Linked DNA regions of Homo sapiens: region 2 is linked to region 1. The links are contacts of gene promoters, found by promoter capture Hi-C in human tissues and cell types (Jung and others, 2019). All regions are on one chromosome and are shown on one strand. Each heading gives the region's core, a stretch centred on a gene start or on the middle of the fragment in contact. The rest is flanking DNA. Distances are from core to core; before and after follow the strand shown.

Region 1 (2,700 bases), core at 197-2,696:
ATTGCCCTTCGTCTTATGTTTTTAAGTTTAAAAATATTTTTCAAAAATGGTATTGTTTAATAATCTGTCTCCTAAACTCAGAGGATGCAATATTCTACCACTGTTGTCACGTTCCCTTTTGAGCTTGGGGTTGTGTGCCCTTTGGCAGTGTTCGGCTCCCGCACTGCTCTTGAAGTTTAGAAATGTGAATTCCAGAAGAGTAGCTCTCACTGTGCCTCTTGGACAATGACGTGCTCCCATCTCTCCCAGCCCTAGCTACTCTCTGTCTCTTACAACTGATGTTCAGAGGAGTCTGGTATAATTGCCACTTGCCTAAGAATAGGATGGGAATCACTTTCTAAGCTTAGGTTGTAGCGCTAACCTGGATACTCCTGGGAGATTGAAGTGTGGCCAACTATAATGCATTTGTCTTAATTTACTTTGAAAAATTTGTACAGTTCCTAATAATCCTGTCCTCTTACCCTCCCAGAATTGGCAATAGTTTGTTGATTGGCCAACTGGAACTTTGTTCTTCTTTGGAGTTGGAATTATCTCTTTCTAGGGTAGGATATTTGCTATGCATGCTGCCTGTCTGGAAATCATGTCACACCTTGGGCACCCAAAGGTTAGAGGAAAGAAATATAATATCCAAGATGCCATGTTTACTGTAAAGAAATAAGTCATTTAAATATTTCTTTGCTGGTCTGTAGGAATGCATTCATAATTCCAGAAAAGTTTTGTCTTGATGGCTGGGCTTCATTTTTCTTTAGCAATATCTGACTGGAAAAAGTTCTCATGACTTTAGTATGTCATCATTAGTTGCAATGTAATTTCAACATGGCTATCATTCCTCCACTTTGAAAGAAACTCATAGGGAAATAACTATTGAAAAGAAATGGGTTTGATTAACTTCCCTTCAAATTTAGAACCCATTTGCACTGGCAGTTTTCACAGCAATCTATCTGATTTATTTATATGATCATAGAATATGAATTTTATTTCCAATTTAAAATTTTAGAATAGTCCTAACACTCAAAGTGAAGTAGATTATGTCTCTGAGGGCATATAAATTTAATTCAGCCAGATTCTCACCCCGCTTCTCTATGGCATTTTGTTCCTCAAGGCGGAGAGAGTTGTTTGAAATTAACAGAGGCTGGACTTCTAGAACTCTCTTTGCAGGAAGGAGATTAAAAATGGAATAAATCCCATGTAGAAAGCCCGACAGTTGACAGAGACAAGACCTTGAGGCTGCATTTCCTTCCCACCTCTTTAAATTCTACTTACCATTAGAATGATCAAAAGGCAAATGTTTCTGAAGAAGAGCCAATCCATTCCTTTGGGTTTCTCTTGCACGCAAATCCTGTGAGATTCAATTTGAGCCCTCGTCTTCTCAGTTCCGAATTCTGCTCTACAGAAAGATATGCTTTGAGACACCCTTTTAGGAGGGCATGGGTGATAACTGTGGTGATCTCTGGGCAGAGAGATGAAGATATTCTATAATGACTGTTTCCCCACCCCAAACTCCCAGGCTGGTCTGGAAGACTGGCATTGTTTGGGCTCTGGGTAAGAATTTAGACACACCTTGATTCTTATTGCAATGAAACCCTTTGTTGGACACCAAAGAAAAACCTTACAGAGCGAGGACAAGATTTACAGGGAAGATAGCCAGTGAATAATAAATTACTCACAACATAAAAAATAATTAAAATGCTAGGGCCTATCATCATGCTGAATAAAATTAGAAGGCTTCTTCTTACTGCCAACATTGTAAAAGCAAAATTACATATACTGACAACACATACACACACATGTCCACTGCAGAACCCACTTCAAGGAATGATACTTTTAGCAGAGGCCATTGTTGAAAGTCATCAGGACTCAAGTATGGTATAGGAAGAAAGATAGAATAATGACGCTCATTTCAATTCAGTTGAGTCCTGCTTCTCTCTTTAAAATGTCTTGTGGTTGAACCGCACTCTCAATTTTAAAGATTTTCTGAAATAACAAAGTTAAGATGAAGGAACTCTGATTTAACTAGTACCAGTATGTTTGTTTCCATACTTTGGCATTTTCTTTCTTGATTATTCAGTCAAACCTCTACAATATGATATTTACAAAATCATTTTAAAGTAACTACAATACAACATTCTCACTTCTCATAGTATTACCACTGATAAAAAGTACATAATGTGGGTGAGGAACACATTTTACACCACCACAAATATTTATTAAGGAGAAACTGAAGTTGGAAACGTGAGAATTTAATGAAAAAAAGCCCAGAGTGGGATCTGGATATTTTTGAATATTATTTCCCTTTTTCGTGTCTCCCTTTTCCTTTGTTAGTATGGGTTTGAAACAGGGTATAGAGTGTCCTGATGCAAACATTGCAGGCTGGCAGCAACATCAATAAACTTAAAAGAAAATGCAGTTAACTGTTCTCTGATTGATAGATAATACATGTTGGTTGGAGAATTTCAAAGGGAGACTGCCTCCTGTCTTCACTATCCCATCACTGTAATTCAGAAACAAGGTTGACCCTGGTAATAGAATGTATTCTAAGTATTGCTTAGTTTCTTGAGAAAAGTAGTTTTAGTATTTTTGGAAGCCAGATAAAGTAATTTACTTTTGCATTATTTCATGTCATGTTGAATTAGATAATTTAATTTGCCTAAGAGAATTAATGAAACAACTCCAGGTCTTTAAGTGACATTGCTTTTTACA
Region 2 (2,700 bases), core at 68-2,567, 170 kb after region 1:
GAGGTAGTAATCAAGGCCACCATTCAGCATTTCTTCAGTCTACTGCTTTGTTTTATAAAGCAATGTGTAAAAAGCACCACGTATTCTACCTTTATGAAATGGTGTGATGGAGGCTGGATTGAAGGCTTTCCTTTTGGCTTGAGAAACTTTTTTTGAATATTAGAGTAATTTTTTTAAATGTATTTTAATATTTATTTATTTGTTTGTTTTTAGATAGGGTGTCACTATGTTGTCTAGGCTGGTCTTGAACTCCTGGGCTCGAGCCATTCTCCAGCCTCAGACTTCTGAGCAGCTGTGATTACAGGCACGTGCCATTGTACCTGGTGAGACATGTTTTATAGTTCCTCTTAACCCTATAGCACTGACCTTCCAGGACAATTCCCCTGTTTCCCTTGCAGAGAGGAGAGTGTCTCCGGAGACAGGTAGATAATAGATGTGGCCAAAGATGTGCAATAGTGGGAGAAGACACAGGTGGGCAGAAGGTGATGAAACCTCTTTTGCTGAAGTCAATATTTGTTTGGAAAAAGAGACGTCGACAAAGGTGCTTTTCATTTTAACCTGTTACATGGCTGCAGTGACCATGTCCATGTATTCTAACAAAGAGTTCCAGCAGAGAAGAATGCCAGACAGTGTTAGGAAGCCTCTGCATATTCTAGTGGATGTCAGTGGTTTCTAAATGAACCTCCCTAACCTGTTATGTTACTATTCTTGTTGGAACTCATTGTCCTTAGATAAAAGCCCAATTTTTAAGTACTACTAGCATAACTCTGTACAAGCTGGATCTTCTTTAGTTCTTTATTCTTATCTCCTGGTACTCTCCACCTTGAACTCCATGCTGGCTTCATGCCAAATGAACCTTCTCTCAGTTTCTTAAATATACCATTGTCTCTCTCCTGTATACCTTCATGGATGCTGTTTCCTCTTTTGGAAACACTCTCTATCCTTTCCGCCACTCCAATCTCCCCCTTTACTTGGTAATCCTTATCCTTCAGAGAATAGCTTAAAGGTCATTCCCACCAGCGAACCTTCCCTACCTGCAACCATGAAGTGTGGGTCTGGGGTTCCTGGTGTGTGCTCCCAGGGCACATTCCCCTTTCCCTGCCCTGGCGCTCCTCACACATGGCAGTGTGTTTACTTATCTGTCTGCACCACAAGTGCCCTGTTCCTGAGGGCAGAGGTCACAACTCTCCTATTCGTTATTGTATCCCCTCTCCTGTTTATCATTGTATCAGGCCTAACACAGTGCCTGGCACACAGCAGGGCAGGCTTTCTACAAATATTTGTTGAATGAGAAAATATATGCATAAAAGTATTATTTTCCAATTTGTGAAGCCAGCTTCTCAGAAAGAAAATGGAGTTTATGAGCAGAGCTTTCCAGTAAATTTGTATTTAGTCATAATACTACAAACAAGCATATCATTATTTCTTTATTTCTTGGTTTTGAATGGTAATTATTTTTGCAAGTTCTGAGTATTTGCACCAATTTATGAAATACAAGCAGTAATGAAATACAAGCAATTTATGAAACACAAGCAATATTAAACATGACAGTAGATGGCTCCTGTTTATAGGTGATGCCGGTAACATTCTAGAAATAAATGGCTTGATTGGAAACTTCTGTTTAAAAAAAATGTGGGAAGTGAAGGGAATGAGTTGGCCTTTAACAAAGAGAAAGAGAATACGATCATTTTCTAAATATAATAAATAGAATATCATATTTAATCTATGTATGCTTACATGTAGAAATAATTTTTACGACATCATGAAACTGGTAAAATATGAGGCAGATAAACTTAGGGGAAGTGATTTTTCTGGTTATGAAATACACTTTTCCCCAAGGTACTCATAATTTTAGTTATTTGTAAATAATTTTACTTCATAAAAGCATATTTCTAAGTGAATGTTTCTGAAATATTAAGTTCTTGCAATATCTGAGGTTTGTTAAGCAGGTATTTAGTTAAGCAGGTATTTAGTTAAGTTAAGCAGGTATTTAGTTAAGTTAAGCAGGTATTTAGTTAAGTTAAGCAGGTATTTAGTCTCATTTCTGTCTTACAACTCAGCAACCAGAGGTGTTCAGTGCATCAGAAAGGAGGAATATAAGCATGTTCGATAGAGTGATTCTGTCCAAGGTGTTTGCATACTCATTTTATCCTTTCAGCAACCCCGCACAGGGTGCTCTGCTTATTTTCCGCGTTATAGAAAAAAACATCAAAATGCAGAGCAGGTAAGCAGCTTGCTCAAGACCACCGAGTGAGTTTGAGGCCATCCTTATGAAAGAAGAGAAAGGAAGAAAAAAAAAAAACAGTTAAGGCAAGTCCTCAGCAGAGGATTTAAACAGAGAAACAGCCTGGAAAATCAAGCTGCAGCTGCACAGATAAGGGAGCAAAGCTCAACATAGAAACACCTTTATTCTTTGTGTAATCAGCGGGCGCCTAGGAAAAAGTTTCTTTTCCTTTCATGGACCTGTACATGGTGGGCTCCCTGGGAACTTACATGGGGCGGGGGGCTTGCCTAAAACATGCCTACAGTTGCTCAGACAACAGAAGTGTTACTCCCTGTGCTTGCGTAAGACACGCCCGCAGCTGCACAGAAAAGGGCAGTTACACAAGCAGCTATATAGACAGGGGAAGTTACACAGCTATACAGATAAAGAAAGTTTCTTATACAAACTTTTGCATTCAACTGTAAAAATGGAAACCC

The links. Contacts are between HindIII fragments. The study calls those that stand out against the background at their distance.
Region 2: a fragment that was not itself captured here is called in contact with the fragment with the promoter of DSG4 in region 1 in 3 of the 25 tissues and cell types used here (mesenchymal stem cells, mesendoderm cells and thymus).

What each region holds. Positions count from the first base shown.
Region 1 is chr18:31,375,523-31,378,222 of GRCh38, reverse strand. It overlaps DSG4 (desmoglein 4), which reads right to left and starts at 1,446. Exons shown (of 16, transcript NM_177986.5): 1 at 1,264-1,446. The coding sequence starts at 1,311. The region is part of intron 1 of DSG1-AS1 (DSG1 antisense RNA 1); the gene reads left to right. The HindIII fragment of the contact is 6,705 bases long and covers 1-2,700 here.
Region 2 is chr18:31,203,456-31,206,155 of GRCh38, reverse strand. No RefSeq gene overlaps it. Among named protein-coding and RNA genes, the nearest start is that of DSC1, 42 kb to the right of the region's middle. RefSeq lists an enhancer at 1-29. The HindIII fragment of the contact is 5,385 bases long and covers 1-2,700 here.